Regions from separate parts of the Homo sapiens genome. Here region 1 is linked to region 2. The links are contacts of gene promoters, found by promoter capture Hi-C in human tissues and cell types (Jung and others, 2019). All regions are on one chromosome and are shown on one strand. The core of a region is centred on a gene start or on the middle of the fragment in contact, and the rest is flanking DNA. Distances in the headings are between cores, read along the strand shown.

Region 1 (5,927 bases), core at 3,175-5,674, 390 kb before region 2:
TGATTCAGTTCTCACTCTCCTGAATCATAAGCTAGTGCTCGCTGCTGGCACCATATTTGAAGATGTTTCTACATTCAGCCAGGTGCTGTTACTGTCTAAACTCCTGTTTTGGGCCTCTGTGAATTCACCTGCAAAATTAGGCAACTAGACAAAATACAGCACGATCAGACCTAAAATTCTGGGCAGATGGTTTGTCTGTTTCTGGTGATACATTTTCTTTTTTCTTTCTTTTTTTTTTTTGAGATGGAGTTTTGTTCTTGTTGCCCAGGCTGGCGTGCAGTGGCGCTATCTCGCCTCACCACAACCTCTGCCTCCCAGGTTCAAGCCATTCTCCTGCCTCAGCCTCCTGAGTAGCTGAGATTACAGGTGCGGGCCACCACACCCAGCTAATTTTGTATTTTTAGTAGAGATGGGGTTTCGCCATGTTAGTCAGGCTGGTCTCAAACTCCTGACCTCAGGTGATCCACCCACCTTGGCCTCCCAAATTGCTGTGATTACAGGTGTGAACCACCGTACCCGGCCTTTTTTTTTTTTTTTAAGCAGGGTCTCTTTCTGTCTCTGAGGCTAGAGTGCAGTGGCACCATCACGGCTTACTACATGCTCAAACTCTTGGGCTCAAGTGATCTTCCTGCCTCAGCCTCCCAAGTGGCTGGGACTATAGGTGAACACTACAATAGCTGGCTTTTTTTTTTTTTTTTTTGAGACTCTTGACCTCAGGTGATCCACCCACCTCGACCTCCCAAATTGCTGGGATTACAGGTGTGAGCCACCACGCCTGGCCTATTTTTTTTTTTTTTTTTTGTAAAGAAAGGGTCTCCCTATTTTCTTTATTTTAGAGGCTATCAAAGCTTATTTTAGAAATGTACTAAACAAACATATGGAGAAATGTTCAACCTCACTAATAAGGAAATAAATTATTTACCCATCAATCTATTTTAAGTTTGAACATACAACATGATCTGATAACATTCTAAGATTGCAGATTTAACTCTATGGGGCAAGAATTTATTTTCACTTCTGTATCCCAGGCACCTAGAACAGCCTGGCACACTATAAGGTCCAATAAATACTGTCAAAGGATTATTGAGAAAGGTTTAAGAAAAGATTGTCAAATGAATGAACTTGATAAGAGCTAGCTAGCAATGGTTAATGGTAAAATGAACTATTTCATAACTTTTATCCAACAATGTCTGAGTTAAGTACTTAAACTTGTTGTATTAACCCTCAGGAATCAACACAAACAAATCTACAAACACCAAGCTGAGGTGCAATCGTGGAAAATGTAAGAGGAGATGAAAGGGTAGAACTGAAGGATAACAGAGAAGTCTCTTTGTATAAGACTCATACAAAGTACTCACAGTACTCACAAGGTAATGTTGACCAAAGGCAGAGAAACAGAGAAACAAATTCCATGAGATTAAGAGGCAGAATTTTTTTTTTGAGACATTTTACTATCTTTGTTGCCCAAACTGGTCTTGAACTTCTGGTCTCAAGTGATCTTCCTGTCTCAGCCTCCCAAAGCACTGGGATTACAGGTGTGAGCCACTGCGCCTGGCCTACAGGCAGAATTTCTTTAGTTGCTGTTGTTTTTGAGACAGGGTCTGGCTCTATTGCCCAGGCTAGAGTGCAGTGGCATGATCTCGACTCACTGAAGCCTCAGCCTCCTGGACTCAAGGGATCCTCCCACCTCAGCCTCCTGAGTAGCTGGGACCACAGGTACACCACCATGCCTGGCTAAATTTTATATTTTTTTTGTAGAGACAGGGTCTTGCTATGTTGCCCAGGCTGGTCCAGAATTTCTTTAGCTCACTGCTGCTACCTCTGCCAACTCAGAAGCCCAGGACCAATGTCCCCGTCATTGAGCATACAGCATTCTCCCAAGCAGTGTTTCTAGGGTCCTCTTGATGTCCCTGTTCCGCAAGCAATAGATGAAGGGGTTCAGCATGGGGGTGACCACAGTGTACATGACCGAGGCCACCATGCCCCACCAGGAAGAGGACGATGCATTGGAACTAAGATACACACCAAGGCCTGTCCCATAGAATAAAGAAACCACAAACAGATGAGATCCACAGGTAGAAAAGGCTTTGTGTTTCCCATCTGTGGATGAGATTCTCAGGATGTAGGAGACAATTTGGGTGTAGGAGAAAAGGATCCCTGAGAAGGGCACAAAGTCCAGAAGGCCGGCCACCACGTAGAGCAGGATGTAATTGACATGTGTGTCTGAGCAGGTAAGCCTGAGGACCTGAGCAAGCTCACAGTAAAAGTGCTGAATGACTCAACTGGTGCAGAAGGACACCCGCAGCACCAACAGACTCTGGATCAGGGAGTATGACAAGCTGAGGAACCAGGACACAAGAACCAGCAGGCCACAGAGGCAGGGGTTCCTGGTGACACAGTAGTACAGGGGGTGACAGATGGCCACATACCGGTCATAGGCCATCACGGTGAGGAGAAATGTGTCCATGCCTCCAAAAACCATGAAAAACATACATCTGGGCGATGCAGTCTGCATAGCTGATGGCATTGCTCTGCACCTGGATGTTCACCAGCATCTTGGGGACTGCGGTGGAGGTGAAACCGATGTCAGCCAGGGACAGATTGGAGAGGAAGAAGTACCTGGGGGTGTGGAGGTGGGAGTCAGAGCTGATGGCCAGGATGATGAGCAGGTTCCCCAGAACGGTGACCAGGTACATGGACAGAAACAGTGCAAAGAGCAACTGTTGATCCTCTAGGTCTTGGGAAAATCCCAGGAGTAAAAATTCTGAAACTCTTGTTTGATTTCCCAAGTCCATGTTGCTGACACATCAGCTAGACAGTTAAGGAAGGGAAGAAACATGAAATAGATGCTGAACAGGCTCCAAAATCTCTCTGCTTTTTTATTTCTTGAGGTGAATAATTGGATACAAAAGCTTTAAAATAGCAAAACTTAGGAATCCTACATTCTGTCATTTGTTATAGGCAACATTTCATAACGTTGACTAACCCCTGTTCATTGGCCTCTCAGAGGCTTACCCATTCCCTTTTTCTCTGCTTTAGAATCATCAAATCTACCAAGAGCAACTTTAGACCTTAGAGATAAAATGGTCTGCACCTGCTCTAACACATATAAGGTTCAGTGAACTTAAGAAAAGGTCAGGGTCATCTTCCTTGTCTAAGACACAACTGAGACTGAAGAAGGTCAGACAACTATGTCTGAGCAGTGAGAAAATATGAAAGCAGAGATAATAGCTAGACAAAATATTGCAAGATGAGTGGATTTAGGTTTTCAAGGAAGGAAAGAGGAAGGGAGGGAGGGAAGGAGGAAGGAAGGGAAGGAAGGAAAGAAGGAAGGAAGGAAAGGAAGAAAGGAAGGAAGGAAGGAAGGAAGGAAGGAAGGAAGGAAGGAAGGAAGGAAGGGTTACTTGTTGCCTTAAGTCCCACTTGGAATTATGGTGGCAGCCAAATTCTGATTCAAATAGGTCATGACATTACCAGTAATAACATTCATCTTAAGAAGCTGACCGCACATTAAAAACTTTCTACCTTAGAACCAGGGTTTCAAAATTAGAGACCAGAAAGATACAGTCATTTGACACTTATATGATTCTCTTTTTCCATCCACATAATAAATATGTCCTAATCTGTTTCTAGTGTCTAGTGTTGGTGCACAATTTTTTTTGTTGTTGTTGGGTTTTTGTTTGTTTTCTTTTCTTTTGAGACAGAGTCTTGAGCTGTCACCCAGGCTGGAGAGTTCAGTGGCGCAATCTCGGCTCACTATAACCTCTGCCTCCCGGGTTCAAACAATTCTCCTGCCTCAGCCTCCTGAGTAGCTGGGATTACAGGTGTGCACCACCATGCCCAGCTAGTTTTTGTAAAAATACAAAACTAACTAGCTAGTTTTTTACAAAAACTAGTTAGTTTTACCATGTTGGCCAGGCTGGTCTTCAACTCCCAACCTCAGGTGATCTGCCCACCTCGGCCTCCCAAAGTGCTGGGATTACAGGCATGAGCCACAGCACGTGGCCTGGTGCATAATTTTTGTTGAGCCGTGCTGGGAAGTACAGAAGAATTGAACTAGGTTGACAACTAGGTTGTCAGTCACTGAAAAAGTGCTAACAGCCATTCTGCAAGAGGGTCTTCTTTGGGCCAGGCTAAGTGTTAGCTGTTGGGGATACAAAGATTAATGATGTGGTCTTTTTTTTCTTATGGTTCCACCTTCCAGAAGATGGATTCAGAAACAGATCATTGTAACACAGTGAATTAAGTGCTAAAATAAAACGATGTACAGAGTGGAGTACAGAGAGGAACCCTCAATCCAGCCTGGAGTAATGCATTCAGGGAAGGAGTCCTGGAGGAAGGAATACCTGGGCAAGGAGTTACCCAGGTGAATGGTTGCACAGGGGCATTTCTGGCAGAGATATAAGCAAGGGAATAAGCCTAGAAGCAAGAAGCAGCATGGGACAGAGTTCTCTTAGCCCTTTGCTGCTGCTTAAGTACAAAGTGTTAGATAGAAACGATGAGGATGATGTTGGAGAGGTGGGCAGGGATGACATGTCTAAGAACTTTGAAAAGTATAATCCATAAAGGATGGGGCTGTGAAGGAACGGCAATCAAAGGAGTAACATGATAGGAATTGCAATTCTCCCTGGGGCCTGGAGGGAAAGATGGATTTAGGGCAGGCAAAACTAAGGATAAGGGAACAGGGTTGGGGATTCTTCATATCATTGGAATTGAGGGGAACAACTCAGGAATATTTTTGCAGAAGAAATACAAAGGCCAGGAGAGGTAAAGGAATGAGGTCAATGTCTTGCTAACAATCTCAGCTTAAGGATGAGACTTGACCTTCAAGTGAAATGAAGGGAATTATGGAAAAGAATCCTGCAGGTTTCAATGCTTCCCTCGTGTTCCCCAGAGGATACGATGTCAAGAGGAGACTGGATGTTGGGCTTGCCTGAGCCCTTCACTTTCCCTCACTCACCCATCGTACCCTAGTTGTTATACACCATGGCCTTCCATTCCAGGGAACACAGACGCTTGTCTCTTGAAGGTGTCTACTTAGAATCATGGATAAGGGTAAAGAAGGATGGGGAAGGATAAGTCTTTCTGGAGAGGCAGGAGATGTTTCCAAGCAAGTGAGGGTCACAGAGAAGAATTCAGAGAGGCTTGATCTAGGCTGAGGGCCTCTGAAGTTCTTGGGTCAGGTAGTAGGTGAAAAGAACTAGAAGTGACCAGGACTTCACTGCAAGGCACCTACAGCTCCTACTGAAACCTGCAGGATTCTTTTCCATAATTCCCTTCATTTCACTTGAAGTCAAGTCTCGTCCTTAAGCTGAGATTGTTAGCAAGACATTGACCTCATTCCTTTACCTCTCCTGGCCTTTGTTTTTCTTCTGCAAAAATATTCCTGAGTTGTTCCCCTCAATTCCAATGATATGAGGAATCCCCAACCCTGTTTCCTTGTCCTTAGTTTTGCCTGCCCTAAATCCATCTTTCCCTCCAGGCCCCAGGGAGAATTGCAATTCCTATCATGTACCTTGGAGCATCCATTTGTACAATGCAGATTGGTCACTCCAAGACCACACAGAGTGATCCAGGGCAGCGCTAAGATATCAAACAGTGCCCCAGGCCAACAAAGAGTAGCCCTTCCTATAACCTCCATCAGTCATCTACCCAAGTAATATACAGGCAAAGTTAAAGCTCGCTATACAATGGCTATTTAAGCAAGTAGTCTAGCCATTCTCCCTTCCAAGAAATCAGCCTCAACAGCCCCTTCTCCGTGGACATCACAGGGTTTCTCCTGCCCTATGATTAACAAGTCAATGCCTTTCCCCTCAATCATCTCTTTTCCCTATTTCCCTCAACACTTACTGAGCTATGAAGGTTTGACAATGTGGACCCACCACAGGAGCCACCTTGTGTCCAGAATTGGTGGGTTCTTGGTCTCA
Region 2 (5,792 bases), core at 628-3,127:
TAACCCACGGGGGAGAGACACAGAAGTAGGGACCCAGCGTTAGAAATAAAAACCCCTTCCCCTCCCTTATCTGGTGTACTCTCGCCATCACTCCATCCACGAGACTCACCCTTCTATAGAAATAAATTGCGTTGCTGAGAAAACTTTTGCCTGAGTGCTGGTTTCACTTTGCAGCACCCAGCGTTTTATTTTTTTATCTCCAACAGCTGGGATTACAGGGGCCCACCACCAAGCCCGGCTAATTTTTGTATTTTTAGTAGAGACAGGGTTTTACCATGTTGGCTAGGCTAGTCTGGATCTCCTGACCTCAGGTGATCCGCCTGCCTCTGCCTCCCAAAGTGCTGTGATTACAGGTGTGAGCCAGTGCATCTGGCCTGGCTTTAAGTAGAAAGGCTTGCAGCTGGTAACAATTAGAAAAAAAATAACCTGCAAGAAAATAAAAATTAAAAACTAAAGGCTTAGTCTACACGCGTTCATATTTACATACAAAAACGGGCACACCCTAAACAACTATGTTTTTTCCATCTGAATGTAATGTGTCAAAAATAAGTGGCGGGTGGATCACTTGAGGTCAGGAGTTCGAGACCAGCCTGGCCAACATGGTGAAACCCCATCTCTACCAAAAATATAAAAAATTAGCCAGGTGTGGTGGTGCACGCCTGGAATCCCAGCTACTCGGGAGGCTGAGGCAGGTGAATCATGTTATAAAGTTTTCATGCCACAAAAAAAAAGCACTCAAATATAACATTTTCTTTTCTCAGCAAGGCAATTTACTTCTACAGAAGGGTGTGCCCTCACAGATGGAGCAATGGTGAGCACACACCAGGACAAGGGAGGGGAAGGGGTTCTTATTCTTGAGGAAAGTGGCCCCTGCCGCTTTGTCCTTCCCCGATGGCTAGGGTTAGACCCCACAGGCTAAACTAATTCCAATTGGCTAATTTAAAGAGAGTGACAGGGTGAGTGGTTTGTTGGGGAAAATGGTTATAACAGAGCAGGAAATTGGAATGAGTCAGGGTGGAAAATGAGTCAGGGTGGAGTAAGTAATCGAAATAAGTCTGGGTGGAGCAGGTAATCAGAATGAGTCAGGGTGGAGCAGGTGATCGAAAAAGGTTGCTTTACGGAGAAGTTTAAAAGTAGAAGGCAAAGAATTAAACATACTGACATATTGATTTTTTAAAAAGAAATTTAAAACTCATATCTAACAATCACTTGAACCCGGGAGGTGAAAGTTGCAGTGAGCCAACATCGTGCCACTGCACTCCAGCGTGGGCGACAGAGTAAGACTCCAAATCAAAAAAAAAAAAAAAGTAAAGGACATCAAGACAACGCCAGATTCTCAGATGAGACATTTTTTAGCAAATAAATGGAAGTCACAGCCCTCTTGAAACCATTTTTCCGCCGTTGCTCACCAGGAACATGCCGGAAGAGATAGGTTCCAGACGCGGGAGAATGCGGGGCCAGAGCCAACCTCACCAGAAGGGCAGAAATCCTTTTCCTTTCGGAAAGAAAAAAACTCCCAAAGGTTGCTTTCCAAGCTTTTCAAGAGAGGAGCACAGCGGATGAAAGTACTCAAGAAAACACCCGGCGGAGGCGGAACAAACACACTTCCCGACGCAGCCAGACGGACTGTGCGGCCTCTCGGAACTGGCCAGAGGCCGCACCAGGAGGACTGACAGCCCCTAGAAAAGCGAGTGAAACTAGGCGGATCTGAGAGGCTCCTGGGCGACCACGCCCAATCCTTCCTTTGCCGCCCCGCTGGTATGTCCCGGACCCCCAAGCAGGTAGAACTCACCACAGCGGGGTGGACTCCACCACAATAAAGGTTAAACGGCACTGACCATGCTGAGCCACAGCCGGTAAAGATGGCGGTGGCACACTGACGTCACTTCCGCTCCGAGCCTCCGGCCGGGTGGGGCTCCAGGGCTTGAGTTTCAGGCACGTAGGACAAAGAAATTCTAGTTTCCTCCTGGGTGGGTGCCGGACAGTGCCTGGGGTTGGCTCAGGGAGCGGGATGCAGAAACGGGTTCAGAGAAAAAGATGAGTTTAGAACCGGACCTCTGGACGGAACCGTGGGCGAGGGGTGGGGCCCATATTTGGGGGCGGTTTAGAGGTGGGACCCGGCCTAGCCCGCGTTTCAGGTGCCCAGACGGGTTGGAAAGGCGGGGATGGGGGATGGGACGCACCCCAGAGGATGCTCCTCCAAAGCTTATCCTGGGCGGGCTCAGTGGCTCACGCCTGTAATTCCAGCACTTTGGGAGGCTAAGGCAGGTGGATAGCTTGAGTCCAAGAGTTCCAGACCAGCCTGAGTGAAATAGCAAGACCGTGTGTCTTTTTTTTTCTTTTCTTTTTTTTTTTTTTTTTTTTTTTGAGACAGAGTTTCACTCTTGTTGCCCAGGCCTGTGCCCGGCTCGACCCTGTCTCTATTAAAATATATATATAAGGCCAAGCGCCAGTGGTTCACGCCTGTAATCCCTGCACTTTGGGAAGCCAAGGCGGGCGGATCACCTGAGGTCGGGAGTTTGACACCAGCCTGGCCAACATGCTGAAACCCCGTCTCTACTAAAAATACAAAAAAATAGCTGGGTGTGGTGGCAGGCGCTTGTAATCCCAGCTACTCAGGAGGCTGAGGCAGGAGAATCGCTTGAACCCGGGAGGCGGAGGTTGCGGTGAGCCGAGGTTGCGCCACTGCACTCCAATCTGGGGGACAAGAGCGTGACTTCATCTCAAAAAGAAAAAATATATATATATGTGTGTGTGTGTGTGTGTGTGTGTGTGTGTGTGTGTGTGTCAAGCTTTTTTGTATGCCGCTCCTCATGTTCCTGGAGCCTTTCCATGATTCTTCCATATTAAACCTGCCAGTGATAGATGGCATGGTCTGTCTCTTCCATTCAGTCATTCTTTCTGTAGGCCTTTATTTTTTCTTTTTCTTTTTCTTTTTTTTTTTTTTTTGAGACGGAGTCTCTCTCTGTCCCCCAGGCTGGAGTGCAGTGGTGCAATCTCGGCTCACTGCAAGCTCCGCCTCCTGGGTTCACACCATTCTCCTGCCTAGCCTCCTAAGTAGCTGGGACTACAGGCGCCCGCGACCACAACCAGCTAATTTTTTTGTATTCTTAGTAGAGACGGGGTTTCACGGTGTTAGCCAAGATGATCCCCATCTCCTGACCTCATGATCCACCCGCCTCGGCCTCCCAAAGTGCTGGGATTACAGGCGTGAGCCACCGCGCCCAGCCTATTTTTTCATTCTTTATTTTATAGAACCTGCTGTTTCCATTGCGTTTTCTTTTTACTTTTTTTTTTTTTTTTTTTTTTTTTTGAGACTGGAGTCTCACTCTGTTGCCCGGGCTGGAGTGCAGTGGTGCAATCTCAGCTCACTGCAACCTCCGTCTCCTGGGTGCAAGTGATTCTCCTGCTTCAGCCTCCTGAGTAGCTGGGATTACAGGTGGCTGCCACTATGCCCAGCTATTTTTTCTATTTTCAGTACAGAGGGCATTTCACCATGTTGGCCAGGCTGGTCTCAAACTCCTGACCTCGTGATTTGCCCATCTCAGCCTTGCAGAATGCTGGGATTATAGGTGAAGGGGGCCAGCCCCTCCACACCTGTGGGTATTTCTCATCAGGTGGGATGAGAGACTGAGAAAAGAAATAAGACACAGAGACAAAGTATAGAGAAAGAACAGTGGGCCCAGGGGACCGGCGCTCAGCGTCCAGAGGACCCACACTGGCACCAGTCTCTGAGTTCCTTCAGTATTTATTGATTACTATTTTCACTATCTCAGCAAGGGGAATGCAGCAGGAGAACAGGGTGATAGTGGGGAGAAGGTCAGCAAGAAAACATATGAGCAAAGAATCTGTGTCACAGATAAGTTCAAGGGAAGGTACTATGCCTGGATGTGCACGTAGGCCAGATTTATGCTTCTCTCCACCCAAACATCTCAGTGTAGTAAAGAATAGCAGAGCAGCATTGCCACCAGCATGTCTCACCTCCAGCCACAGGGCAGTGTTCTCCTGTCTCAGAAGAGAACAATGTACATTCGGGATTTATACCAAGACATTCCGTTCCCAGGGGCATTCAGGAGACAGAGGCCTTCCTCTTTTACTAATGCTCCTCAGCACAGACCCTTCATGGGTGTCAGGCTGGGGGACGGTCAGGTCTTTCCCATCCCATGAGGCCATATCTCAGGCTGTCTCAGTGGGGAGAAACTTTGGACAATACCCAGCTTTCCTGGGCAGAGGTCCCTGCTGCTTTCTGCAGTGCATCGTGCCCCTGGTTAATTGAGAATGGAGAATGGTGATGACTTTCATCCAGCATACTGCCTGTAAACATATTGTTAAGAAGGCACATCCTGCACAGCCCTAGATCCCTTAAACCTTGATTCCATACAACACGTTTTGTGAGCACAAGGTTGGGGCTAAAGTTACAGATTAACAGCGTCTCAAGGCAAAACAATTGTTTAGGGTACAGATCAAAATGGAGTTTCTTATGTCTTCCTTTTCTACATAGACAAAGTAACAGTCTGATCTCTTTCTTTTCCCTACAATAGGCATGAGCAACCACGCACAGCCACATTTTCAATATAATAATACTTTCTATAAATCTTGATTTTTTTTTTCTTCACCAAGTATGTATTTCTGGCTGGGCACGTTGCCTCATGCCTGTAATCTCAGCACACTTTGAGAGGCCAATATGGGAGGATCGTTTGAGGCCAGGAGTTGGAGACAAGCCTGGGCAACACAGCAAGACCCTGTCTCCTTAAAAAACAATAAAATTTTTAAAAAATTCCTTTTTTCTTTTATTTTTTGCGATGGAGTCTCGCTCTGTTGCCCAGGCTGGAGTGCATTGGCACAATCTTGGCTCACTGCAACCTCTGCTCCCTGGTTCAAGCGATTCTTCTGTCTCAGCCTCCCAAGTACCTGGGACTACAGGCCTGCGCCACCATGTCCAGCTAATTTTTGTATTTTTAGTAGAGACGTTTCACCATATTGGCTTGGCTGGTCTTGAACTCCTGACCTCATGATCCACCCACTTTGGCCTTCCAACGTGCTGGGATTACAGGTGTGAGCCACTAAGCCTGACCAAAAATATGTATTTCTATTGTTATTTTTCTGATCTTACCACATGGGCCAGGACCGCATTTCCTATGTTGTAAAATAGCAGTAATACCAGACATTCTCCCCAAGTTTATTCAGAAATGTAACATAATCCCAATAAAAACACCAAAATTTTTTCTGGAGTTAGGTACATTGATGCTAAAAGTTTATATGGAAAAAGAAAATCTGATAATAAGCAAGAAAACAAAAACAAGGCCGGGCACTGTGGCTCATGCCTGTTATCCCAGCACTTTGGGAGGCTGAGACAGGCAGATCACAAGGTCAGGAGATCAAGACCATCCTGGCCAACATGGTGAAACCGTGTCTCTACTAAAAATGCAAAAATTAGCTGGGCATGGTGGCACGTGCTTGTAGTCCCAACTACTTGGGAGGCTGAGGCAGGAGAATTGCTTGAACACGGGAGGCGGAGGTTGCAGTGAGCTGAGATCGCACCATTGCACCCCAGCCTGGGACAGAGGGAGACTGTGTCAAAAAAAAAAAAAGGAAAACAAAAACAAAAGCAATGATGAGCAGCAGATATTAAAACATACTATTGACAATTTTCACGCAAGACAAAGAATTATTTTAAAATAAAAATAAGAAAACATTCTATAAAGCCTCTATAATTAAAACTATGTGGTACTAGTGCATGAAGCAGAAACAGACTAATAAAATATCTATAAATAGACCCAAGAACATGTAGA

The links. The method cuts DNA at HindIII sites, captures the fragments that hold promoters and counts their contacts. A contact is called where the count stands out against the background at its distance.
Region 1: a contact is called between a fragment that was not itself captured here and the fragment with the promoter of ZNF562 in region 2, in 2 of the 25 tissues and cell types used here (lymphoblastoid cells and pancreas).

The regions. Positions count from the first base shown.
Region 1 is chr19:9,276,575-9,282,501 of GRCh38, forward strand. It overlaps the pseudogene OR7H1P. Among named protein-coding and RNA genes, the nearest start is that of OR7E24, 29 kb to the left of the region's middle. The HindIII fragment of the contact is 5,089 bases long and covers 1,881-5,927 here.
Region 2 is chr19:9,673,223-9,679,014 of GRCh38, forward strand. ZNF562 (zinc finger protein 562) reads right to left here and starts at 1,878. Exons shown (of 6, transcript NM_001130031.2): 1 at 1,793-1,878. RefSeq lists enhancers at 847-2,046, 1,585-2,084, 1,763-1,822, 2,085-3,084. The HindIII fragment of the contact is 2,519 bases long and covers 1-2,498 here.